Linked DNA regions of Homo sapiens: region 2 is linked to region 1. The links are contacts of gene promoters, found by promoter capture Hi-C in blood cells and fetal thymus (Javierre and others, 2016). All regions are on one chromosome and are shown on one strand. The core of a region is centred on a gene start or on the middle of the fragment in contact, and the rest is flanking DNA. Distances in the headings are between cores, read along the strand shown. Region 1 holds the start of CCNC (cyclin C). Region 2 holds the start of PRDM13 (PR/SET domain 13).

What was found. The method cuts DNA at HindIII sites, captures the fragments that hold promoters and counts their contacts. A CHiCAGO score of 5 or more calls a contact.
Region 2: the fragment with the promoter of PRDM13 here is called in contact with the fragment with the promoter of CCNC in region 1 in 6 of 17 cell types (naive CD8 T cells, monocytes, activated CD4 T cells and 3 more); the score reaches 7.5 in naive CD8 T cells.

The regions. Positions count from the first base shown.
Region 1 is chr6:99,565,872-99,572,119 of GRCh38, forward strand. CCNC (cyclin C) reads right to left here and starts at 2,789. Exons shown (of 12, transcript NM_005190.4): 1 at 2,625-2,789. The coding sequence starts at 2,656. It also overlaps the pseudogene TSTD3. RefSeq lists enhancers at 2,487-2,566, 2,687-2,976, 3,097-3,146. The HindIII fragment of the contact is 11,578 bases long and covers 1,586-6,248 here.
Region 2 is chr6:99,605,583-99,611,830 of GRCh38, forward strand. It overlaps PRDM13 (PR/SET domain 13), which reads left to right and starts at 1,251. Exons shown (of 4, transcript NM_021620.4): 1 at 1,251-1,596; 2 at 3,159-3,290; 3 at 3,605-3,725. The coding sequence starts at 1,453. The HindIII fragment of the contact is 6,161 bases long and covers 1-2,642 here.

The DNA.
Region 1 (6,248 bases), core at 1,539-4,038:
TCAAAAGTGAGACTGTTTTTAGTGTTCCCTTTGCTAGATTTTTCTGTGTTATCATGGCTTCATAAAGAGAATTAGAAAGCTTTTCTTCTTTCTGTATGAAATGGAACAATTTCAAAAGGAGATTCTCTTGAAAGATGGAAAGTATTTACCCATGAAATAACACATAGCTCTTGGGTAATACTCTTAACTTGCTTTGGCTTTCAAATTTAAAACCCTGGAGATAACCCAAAAGTACCCCTGGGTTTACTTTTCTCATTCCTAATTTTGTATTTTTGTATCATTCCTTTTTCCCCTGATTTAACTAGCAGTAGTTTGGTCTACTGTTTTTATTTACTCTAAGAATTAGCTTTTATAATTTTTTTCCTTTTAATATATTAGCATCGTTATCTATTTTAAGTCTTTCTGTTTCTTTAGGTTTATTTCATGTTTCCTTCTTAATATTATTAAATAGAATATTTCTATTATCTCTCAATTATTCAGGATATTGATTTTCTAATACATTCAAGCTTTGGTTACATTCCATATATGGTACTATTATGATGTTATTTTCTAGATAGTAAGTAACTGTATTTTCAGTTTCCTGTGGATACCAATAAAGTATCCACAGTTAGTTTTGTAGTTTTTATTTTTGTTACTTGTTCATTAATGCATTCAATTAACCAGCAAATACTTAGTGCCCTTCTAGTTCATTTTGGTCACAGACTGTGTTTTGTTCTACCTCAACTACACTGTGGTTTGCTAATTAATTTCATCCCCACAGAGTCATTTTATGTTTTTAAAAAGATAAATTTCACAAACATTTTATGAGTTTTCCTCACAGAACTCTGTATGGAGAATAAACTAAAAAACTTTATAAATACTGCATTTCATCAAATTTAAGATTACATCTAGGATTCATCATTATTTCATATGCTATGAAAGCAACTGCCATGCTGATTTCAAAGATGTTAAAGTGTGAAAACGTGCATCTTAGAAGCATGAAATATAGCATATTTAATATCAATTGCCCTCTTTCACCAAATTCACCTAAGACAATGGCCTTTCATAATCTTTTCGTTTGTTTTTCCAGAATTGTCTTGTCTTCCACACTCGTTACCTTTTCCAGATAAGAAACTCCATGACTGCTCAAGGGATTTGAGCAAGGCAAAGTGGTCCCTTCTTTTAGGACTATTTGAATTGGGAGAAAAGAATAGTTTCAAAGAAGTACACTTAACTTTATAATAATTTTATATTTGAAAAGTGAAAACATATTTTTAGAATGCTATGAATAAATGAAAGCATAATGAGAACACTATTGAAAATAAGGCAGGATCTTTTTTTTTTAAGTTGAAAAACTGAAAAATCAACAGTCAGCTACTTGTCAATTCTCTCAGCTTCTTTCAGAGTTTATCAGAATATCTCTTCTCCACTACCTAAACTTTTTTTTTCAGGAGCTCTAACTCCAATACCTAAACTTTCGATACTTTAATTTTGCCCAAGCAATATTTCAGTGTGTGAAAACAATGCAACATATATACACACACATATATATATACATACACACACACACATATATATACACACACACACATATGATCAGTGGTAAAGCTTCTTTAACATGTCATCTCCACAGAATCACTTTATAGCAAGAGGAAAACCTGCTTTTCCTTAAATAGGTTACTGAGTTCATTGTTTCTTTTTTTCTCTTTGCAAAGGGCTAAAAAATGAACATCAGGAACAGATCCTATTCACAGAATCGAAATTTAAATTACTTACTAATGCTTTCTTAGCATAAAAAATTATACCAAGATACCTTGTCAAATTCTGTTCATCTTTCAACTATACAGTGGAAAGCCTACTCAAATGTTCAATTTACCCCATAACGCACCTTCCTGCCTGCTTAAACAAATGTATTTAGGGATAAATGTTTTTAATATTATTCTAGCTCTCACATGGTCACTGACAGAAACAAGAACTTATTCATGAAAAAGGTTAAAGAAACAGGTAAACAAAGTCACTGGAAAAATAGGCCTTTAAAACAAAATATAAAGCACAGGCTAATGAAATGGATAAATTTAGAGGGCACCTGCCCTATACCTTATCAATATAAAACTCCATCTAGACATAAAGTACGCGCAAGAAGCGGTTAGTAGGCAGAAACAAGCCAGACTCTCTCCTCTCCTCATAATATTAAATCCACTCAAGATATACAGTGAATGACAAAAGACCACGACGCCGATCACCCGAAGAAACCCCAGGTAAAAGCACGCCACAACTGTCCTGAACAGGTAGCCTCACAGTCTTGAGCTGAGTCACACTTCCCGTACCTGTGCCCACTCTATCCGACCCCCCGCGGCCTAGCTAAACCAAGAATCCGAAATTAAACTCCGAAACGTTCCTTCCCGGGAGACGAAACTCTCTCCCACCCCTCCCCCTCACAGATCCTTCCCTCCCCGAAACTGGGGCTGGGGGCGGGGAGGGGAGTCGCCTCAGAAAAGCGCATCTTGATTCTGACCGCTGCGGTCTCCCGTGAGGACCCCGGCACTCGGAACTGAGCTGGGATCCAGGCCCAGGGGAGTCACAGGCCCCGTCCTCACAGCTCCCCCAAAAACCGGCCCCAGGTGAGAAGACGGAAGATCGCTTACTAGTGGGAGCTCTGCCAAAAGTTCCCTGCCATGGAACACAGCTTGCCCTGATAAAAAAGCACCAGCCGGCGGAGCGGCCCGCGGAGCGACCATAGACCCAGCCCGTCCGGTAACCGCGCTCCTCGATCAAATCAGCTCGGCTCGACTCCGCTCCGCGGCGGCGACGGCGAAAGGAAGAGGATGGCCCCCTAGTCTCCTTCACGCCGGCCGACAACACTCAACTGTGCAAACCCGTTCCTATCGACAAAAGTTCCGGCCCGCGGTAGCGGAGGGAGCCGGAGGGGAGGTGCTGACCCTTGGAGGTGCTGAGATTGAAGAGAACTAGTGTTCACGAGAGCTCGCGGCGGTTGGAAGGCTCTCGCGAGAGCGTCTTGAGAATTCTGGCCGGGGGCCCAAGCCGCTCGGTCTCCTGTCTTCAGCACGGGAGTTGCTGAGTGGGTCTAACCTAGGCGAAGTGGCTCAGATACGGGGTTCTGTTATTACCTCTTCCAGGACTTCAAAAACAGAACAATGTGGCATTGTAATAAAGTACAAGGTTTTGTGACTTATTTTTCCTGTGATTGGAAAGAGAAATAAATGAAGATGACTTTGTTCTCAGGGATCAAGTGTTCCTTTTTTTTTTTTACTTTATTTATTTATTTATTTTGAGACGGAGTCTTGCTCTGTCTCCAGGCTGGAGTGCAGTGGCACGATCCCGGCTCACTGCAAGCTCCGCCTCCAGGAGTTCAAGCGATTCTCCTGCCTCAGCCTCCCGAGTAGCTGGGACTGCAGGCGCGCACCACCATGCCCAGCTAATTTTTGTATTTTTAGTAGAGATAGGGTTTCACCATGTTGGCCAGGATAGTCTCAAACTCCTGACCTCGTGATCCGCCCTCCTCAACCTCCCAAAGTGCTGGGATTACAGGCGTAAGCCACCGCACCCTGCCTGTTTTTTACTTTTGAGACGGAGTCTGGGTCTGTCACCCAGGATGGAATGCAGTGGCACAATCTCGGCTCACAGCAACCTCTGCCTTTCCAGTTCAAATGATTCTGCTGCCTCAGCCTCCCAGGTAGCTGGGATTACAGGGATTACAGGCGCGTGCCACCACGTCCATCTAATCTTTGTATTTTTAGTGGAGAGGGGATTTCGCTAGGCTGGTCTGGAACTCCTAACCTCAGGTGATCCGTCAGCCTCAGCCTCCCAAAATGCTGGGATTAACAGGCGTGGGCTACCAGGCCCGGCCTGGATCAGGCGGTTTTTTTTTTTTTTTTTTTTTGAGACGGAGTCTTGCTCTGTCGCCCAGGTTGGAGTGCAGTGGCGCTATCTAGGCTCATTGCAACCTCTGCCTCCCAGGTTCAAGCGATTCTCCTGCCTCAGCCTCCCAAGTAGCTGGGACTACAGGCTCACACCACCACGCCCAGCTAATTTTTGTATTTTTAGTAGAGACAGGGTTTCACCATGTTGGCCAGGATGGTCTCCATTTCCTGACCTCGTGATCCGCCCACCTCGGCCTCCCAAAGTGCTGGGATTACAGGCGTGAGCAACCGCGCCCGGCCGCGATCTTTTTTTTTTTTTTTTTTGAGACGGAGTCTCGCTCTGTCGCCCAGGCTGGAGTGCAGTGGCGAGATCTCGGCCGCGATCTTAATGGAGTTATTTTGGAGTGATAAAGTGCAAACTTACAGAGCAGCGGAATCAACAGTTTTGCAGAACATCTAAAAATATTCATGCATATATGTATGCACATGTATGTACATGTATGCACCTAATAGAAACATACTGCAAAAAAAGCCATAATTTAATTTTACAAGACGAAATATTTTGTATTTTCCATTTCATTTTCATTGTAGCAATGCATTTATTGTAAAACTTATAATTATTTTTCTAAATAATTGGACACTCCAGAAACTTGTTTATAGACAGTCAGCATCTGAGGCAACTTAAGACAGTATTTTTCACATTGTAGGTGGAGACCAATTAGGGTGTGGTAAAATTAAGTATAATCATTTTCCTAAATAGAACAGAAAATACTAGGTAAATCAGAAATAGCAAGGATATTATATTTAAATTTGGTTCAGTTATATATGTGTGTATATACATACACAAACACACATATACACACACAGTCAAGATGTGAAATGCATTTGTTTGTATGTGAGAATTAGTCTGCATCAGGTGTGGTGGCTCACGCCTGTAATCCCAGCACTTTGGGATGCCGAAATGGGCGGATCACTTGAGGTCAGGAGTTTGAGACCAGCCTAGCCAACATGGTGAAACCCTGTCTCTACTAAAAATACAAAAATTAGCGGAGTGTGGTGGCGTGCACCCGTAGTCCCAGCTACTCGGGAGGCTGCAGCACAAGAATCGCTTGAACCCAGGAGGCAGAGGTTGCGGTGGGCAGAGATTGTGCCACTGCACTCCAGCCTGGACAACAGAGTGAGACTCCAAATCCAAAAAGAAAAAGAAAAAAGAATGAATTAGTCTGGATAAGCTACACTAGGTGAAATTGTGGTAACACCTCCCCACCCCCACCCCTAATCAGCATAGCTTAACATCAAAGTATTTTACATGTCATACGTCACTCCCATAAAGTCCCATAAAGTCGGCTTGCTCTCCTTGGTGGTTGTCTTCCAGATTTTCAAGAATGTAATATTTATATATCCTTCAATTACTCCATCTTGATGGTCTTTACTTCTAGGTTTAAAATCTTTCTAGAGAGAGCACAGAGGACTCATACTAACTCTTACCCAGGGTTAAGAGCCTTGAAACAGAAACAACCCAATCACTTTCTCTCATGGGCCATTGACCAGAATAGACACATGCCTCCAATTTTTAACTGTGAAGAAAGCTGAGGCCAGGCACGGTGGCTCACGCCTGTACTCCCAGCACTTTGGGAGGCCAAGACAGGCAGATCACGAGGTCAGGAGATCAGACCATCATGGCCAGCATGGTGAAACCCCGTCTCCACTAAAATACAAAAATTAGCCGGGCATGGTGGCGCATGCGTGTGATCCTAGCTACTTGGGAGGCTCAGGCAGGAGAATCGCTTGAACCTGGGAGGCGGAGGTTGCAGTGAGCCAAGATCGCGCCACTGCACTCCAGCCTGGGTGTCGGAGTGAGACTCTGTCTCAAAAAAAAAAAAAAAAGAAAGAAAGCTGAGAAATGTAAACGAGTGTGTAGTATACTTCATGAACACTACTGTCTGTTACACTACAGATCACAATAGAAAATATTGGCAGGGCGCGGTGGCTCAGGCCTGTAATCCCAGCACTTTGGGAGGCTGAGGTGGGCGGATCACGAGGTCAAGAGCTCGAGACCATCCTGGCTAACACGGTGAAACCCCGTCTCCACTAAAAACACAAAAAATTAGCCGGGCGTGGTGGCAGGCGCCTGTAGTCCCAGCTACTCGGGAGGCTGAGGCAGGAGAATGGCATGAACCCAGGAGGCGGAGCTTGCAGTGAGCTGAGATCGAGCCACTGCACTCCAGCCTGGGCGACAGAGTGAGACTCCATCTCAAAAAAAAAAAAAATAAATAAAAATATATATATATTTATCTTTATATTTATATTTAAAAGGCACTACCTTAAGAAACTCCAGGCCATGGGCTAGTTCACAGATTCAGGATTTCTTCAACTCTCTCAGGGTTT
Region 2 (6,248 bases), core at 1-2,500, 38 kb after region 1:
ACCACTCAGGCCTCTCTTGGAAGAACTGCATCGGGCTCCGGTGCTGGCTGCATAGGATTTGGGGAGCTGTGCTCAGAACTAGCAGCACGCGGCAGGTGCCGGCAGAAATCACAAATATCTGATGAACTTGATTACTTGGCTACTATTTATGAAAATAAATGTTCTCACGCCAATTGGAGGCTTCCCTAAAAGAAAACGGGTAGCTCTCCGGTTTAACTCTGAAGTACAACGTCTTGTTAGTTCACAAAGTAGGTGTAAGAAAGAGTTGTCCCAAACGCCCACCTCGCCCCTCTTCTCTACAACCTTTAACAGATTGCGGTGATTTTCGTTTTTGTTTACTGTTTTTTTTTTAATAGAAAAGTCCAGGTTGCTGGTTTTAGGGAAGTTAGTCCAAGGACATCTTCTAGGGGACGTGATCAATAACCCACTGGTAGAACTTCTTCCTCTTCAACCCTGGGCTGCGGACCGGGGCGCAGGATCCCCATTCGAAACTGTTGGTTCTGGGGCTGTTTCCCATTCTCCAGAGAAAGTGCAGGCCCGGGGTGTGCCCGAGAAAAGTGATGAGCAGTTGACCTCCCCTTCTCAACTTGGTCTGGAGGCTTCATCATATTTTCGGACGAAATGGGACAGAAGTGAGAATTAAAGCGGTTCTGAATAGACGACTGGCCTGAACCCAATCCCCTGAAATGGTAATATGGTTGTTATTTAAAAAGTGTAGGTATTTTCTGGTGTTTTCCCATCAAGTACCTGCCTAATTTCTGTATGGCACACGCCAGAAATCAATAGTAGTTAACAAGTCCTCCAAACAGTCTCCATCTCTTTGTTTAATCTCCTTTACAATAAAGCCAAGGGGAGAGAATTAAAAATCTTTGAAGTAGATCAAGGCTCAAAGGAATCAGCCAAGTAGACTTAAAGTAGTCACTTATTTCCCAAAACTGGTTTGTCGGGGAACAATAAAAGGAAGTAAAATTTATGGAGAAATTATACAGTGGATTTGTCACTTAAAATATCGTAACTGTCTGGAGGACAATACCCCATGCTGAGGATTAATGGTCCCGCCGGACCTTTGATTCACCAGTGCCTTTTCTTCGCCCTTGACAAATTGGATTTTTAGGAATGGGAAGGTCGCCTGGACCATTGTGTGCTAGCCATTCAGCGGCCTCGATTATGCAGGGGGCTGAGGGAACCACTCCATGTGACCCTCTCGGGTGGGACTCTGCAGCTGCTTCGCAGCGCAACTCTCTCACCAAACTCCGCGCCCTTGCGCTAGCGGTGCCAAAAGGCTCCCGCCCCGATTGAAAAGGCGCAGTGCATGCCCGCCCGCGTCACTCCGCGGGCGGAGGACGCACGTCGGGGCGCGGCTCTCTGGCTAGCGCGCAGCTCCAGCTCTGTCACTCGCGCCCTTCCAAGGACCTGGAGCACCCGAGCGCCTGCCTGGTGGCGGCGGCAACAATGCACGGAGCCGCCAGAGCGCCAGCCACCAGCGTGAGTGCCGACTGCTGCATCCCGGCCGGCTTGCGCCTCGGACCGGTGCCTGGTACCTTCAAGCTGGGCAAGTACCTGTCAGACCGCAGGGAGCCCGGGCCTAAGAAAAAGGTATTGACCATTCAGACCTCTGCCCACTGCCATTCGCCTCTCAGTGCCCTGACCCGGGAAAGGGGTACGAGAGAAAGTGGAGGAAGGGAGTGATTGAGTCGTTACCTGCTAATTCTGCCGGGTGGAAGGGGACTCCTATTATTCTGAGCAAGTAGCCTCTTTAACTGTGAGAGCTGGACGGGGTCGGGCTGAGAGGAGAGGATGTGGCCGAGAGGCGACAGCCCTGGGTGGGGTGCACTGAGCGCTGTAGGTGCCGGGACCATTCGCAGCTTGTGTTTTCCCCTGCGCTCTCGGGTCTCCTCAGTCAGAAGCCAGAAGCCCACCCCCGCACGCTGTCCGCAGCTCTCTCTGCAAAAGCACCCTCTTTCTGGGGGCTCAGGGCATCGAGACCCTTTCTTCCCTTCTGCCCTTCAATATGTTAATTTGAGGCCTAATTTCGCCTTAAAGTAATTTTTTTTCCTGAAAAAAAAAATCTTTGGGAGGCTCTCAGTTCCTAGAACCTCCTCAGATATTTTTTTTTCCCTTGCCGATGTCGGCTTGTGGGTATGCGGCATATGGAGAGAGGATGAGCAAGGTACTGGCTCTGACGCGGGCTCCAAGGGCGAGGCGCGCCCATTCGCGCGGGGCACAGGGTCAGAGCGTCTGCAGCGGGGCTCTGAGAGTCCAGAGGCCCAACCGGGAGGCGCCAGGGCCAAACCACTAGCTTTGACTCCCACACTCCACACACCGTCGCGACCCCTGACCAGAGAGACTTATAGCACTCGCCCGCTTTGGGGGCGTCCCAGGAGCCAAAGGTCGGCAAACAGCGACCGGGAAATGAAGGCAGAAGTCTGGGGTAGAAGAAAGGACTTTGGCTTCCTTGGCTTTAGCTTGCCTTGCTTGGAGCTTTCTAGTAAAAAGCTCCGGTGTCCAGCCAGCGGGACTTGCACCTCGCTCCTCCTGCAATCACGCCCCCCACTACAGTCTAAAGCGGGGTTTGGTGCCCACCGCGCATTCCTCTTTAAACGCGTTTTAATTGCTTTTAAATGGCCTGCCAGCTGCGGGCAAGCTTTTCCCCGCTTGGGCTTTGTTCCGAGACTTTAGCTGCAGGGCTCACAGGCAACTAGGTGCGATGCACACAGAATACAGGAGGCATGAGATAATTTTTTTGTTTGTTTGTCGGGGGTACGCTCTGGGCCCTGGGACTGACCTAGAAATGTCTCTACCGTGGTGTTACGGCTGCTCTCAGAACTGCAAATGGGAGAGCTGGGGTAGGGGACAACTTGGTACAAGATGTGCCTAAGCACTCAGGGAGGATGCTCTCAACACCCCTCTCCCCTCCCCGTGTCGTCAAGGTGGGGCGCAGGGAAGTGGGAGTACTGTTAGCATAGGTAGACTTTCCTCTTTCTCCCTCCCCGAAGCAAGGTCCTAAGGAATTCTCCTCCTCCCAGTAGCCCATAGTGGTCTGGCCAAACCAAAAACAACCACTTTCCTGTGTTGGGTTGGGGTGGAGGATAAACTTTCTGTTTGGGTTGTGGGCCTGGCCAAGGTGCGGGGGAGAACGACCACTGCTTGTGTTGCAGGTGCGCATGGTGAGAGGGGAGCTGGTGGACGAGTCGGGGGGCTCCCCTCTGGAGTGGATAGGGTTAATCCGGGCAGCCAGAAACTCCCAGGAACAGACTCTGGAAGCTATTGCAGACTTACCCGGAGGACAGGTACTGCGGGCTTCTCTCCACACCCCCCCACTCCCCACCGCCAATTCAGTCTACCTAACCGTCCCTGCGGTGGCCAAAAATATTAAGAGCAAAGTACTTTAGCTAGACGTCTCATTTAAACGTCTCGACAACCCTTTAAGGTAGTTACTATTGTTTTTCCGTTTGAAGGATGACGGAAGTGAGGTTCAGAGAGCTCCAGTAGCTTCTCCAGGGTCACACAGCATCAGAATCCGGATTTGAACCTTTCTTCTCAGTTGCTTTTTGACCGATTACCCAGGAAATGACATTGAACTGTTCTATTCCTTGCGTCCCAGATCTTCTACCGAGCATTGCGAGACGTCCAGCCAGGGGAGGAGCTGACAGTGTGGTATTCTAACTCCTTGGCTCAGTGGTTCGACATCCCCACCACAGCGACTCCGACTCACGACGAGAAAGGTACCCATTCCAAAAGCGTGGATGGGCAAAAGTCCAGCCCTCCTCCTCCTGTCTTGAAGCGAGTCCCTAGACATAGCTCGATCTATGTAAAATGGAATTCACATTCCCTGTATTTCAAGGCAAAGAGGAGAGAGGTCGCCACTACCTCCTTAAAATCAACCATAAACGATAACAGTGATAGTAGCAATCTGGCTCACAATGGCAGGGGAAAAAGTAGGCTCTATGAACTTAATGGGGCCATCCTTTTTCTGTTGCATATTCAAACAGACCATTATTTACTCAATTAAAATAAAAAAAATTAGGCGCGGTAGCTCACACCTGTAATCCCAGCACTTTGGGAGGCCGAGGTAGGAGGATCACTTGAGGCTAGGAGTTCGAGACCAGCCTGGGCAACATAGTGAGACCTCTGTCTCTACAACAAAAAAATAATTAGCCAGGTGCGGCGGTACATGCCTGTAGTCTTAGCTACTCAGGATGCTGAGGCAAGAGGATCACTTGAGCCCAGGAGGTCAAGGTTCCAGTGAGCCGTAATGTTACCACTGCATGCCAGCCTGGGTGACAAGTGAGACCCTGTCTCAAAATAAATAAATAAAAATAAAAAATAAAAAAGGAGCCTTAAGTTGTTGTTACAGTAATTACATCATGAGTTCCACAGAGTATAACTCAAACCTGGAATGCTTTTACAAAGTCCATGGACATTTCTTCTCCACTGGCTTTCCAGGAGAGCAGTGCATTTCTACAGCATTTTAGAAGTATTACGGTACTTACAGCTGGTCAGTTGGCAGGTACTGAGACCCTTCCATTTAAGTGGCATTTATTCATTTCCCCTTGCCTACTTAAGTTGAATCTGGGATGTATCCCAGTTTCTTCTCAGATTTATTTGATCCCTTCAAAGCCAAGAGCGGATTTATGCAAATTAAGGTGCAGTAACTAAACAGAAAAACATTTTTAAACCTACCCTTGAACACTGAAGAACACTTCCTGTGGAAAGAAGTCTAGGAGGTGCTAGAATAGTTGAGGTTTTGGAGACTTCCTTTTCACACACAAAGCTTCCATGGCTTTTTTTCTTTGACAATTGTCTGTAATTTCTCCTAAAGACACATTTAACATCAAAATAATGAATGCTGTGAAATATTCTAACATGCTGTCTTCCTGAATTGCCTGCTCAATCTCATCCCTTTAGAAATAGGTTTAGAGAAATCAATACAAGTATGTGAATTAGGAAACACTTCATGAATAACACAGAATGAAGTTTATTCAAAACAATGAATCACTTTAAAGTATCATCGTCCTCTGTAAGTTAATTCTGTTTATTTTGTAGGTATAGTATTCAAATTATCCTAAAATAGTTTGTTCCTTGCATCACATTATATTACATTCTCTTGTCAACTTCTTCCAGTAAAAAGAGAAGTATAATAAAAGCCACATAGTGGAGAACTCTCAAATCTGCCACTATAGAATTTGGCGGGCCACTAACCTTTAGAAGCCAGCCATTTCTACAGAGAACACCCTTTCTTAGGTAGTCCCAAATAGTACAAAAGCAACTGGAATAGCGGTCCTTGTGTTTTCCTTTCAGCCAATTGAGCTTATAAACATCATATGGTAACAGATGTCAAAATAAACATTTTTTTTTTCTGGAGGTGAGAAGGCATGGGTGATTTTGAACCCTGACTTCCCCAGCTTGGAGAAGTTTGAACTCTTGACCACCTTAGAGTTACATGAAGAGGAGGCAGTCACTTGTTAAATGTATTTGATACTCTTGGCATGATTTGGATCTCAGAGTCTGGAGAATATGTCAGTTAGGATAACTGAAAAAAAGTATATATTAAACGTATGCTGCTTAAAGCTTGGAAAGAGGAAGAAATAAATAGGGATGGCTGCTATCCTCCTAATACTAGCTAACTTCAGTGGGTTTCAATTTCATAGTAAGATGGAGGAAAATACTGCCCCCTCATTTTAAGAAAAAAGCTTATGTGGCTTTGCATTGAGCTGAGTCATTCTGCGGCAGACTCTGAAAACTCCCTCTTTCAAAAGGGGTGATGAGAGAGAGAAAGGCTCTGAAGTTAGAAGGAAGTTATTTAAGACAACATACCCACCAAGAGAACCCAGGAGGTCTATTCTCTCTTTTTTTCACGATTCATTTTACATGAATGTTCAGTACAAGGTAACAGAATATTGAAATGGTTTTATCTAAGACTTCTATAAACGATTAGGGTAGGGTGTCATAGGCAAATACTCTTCTCCCATTTTTCTTTCTGCTCTCCTTGGACTCAGTTGGAATGCAGTGCTTATCACTTGAGTTTTCACAGGTCTTATGGGGTAGGGGTGGGAGCTACTTGTGTTATGCAAACCCAGAAGTTAATATACATAAAGGGAAGAAGATCTGGAATTCTTCCCTATTGTTATTTCTGTAGTAATATTTCAGAAGTTTGAGCTGCTCATATATGCAGAGGGAGAATTTAACTTTCCTGTTAAATTTTATGAGACTGATGTATATTTTGGATATTTCCTTGCGGTTCAACT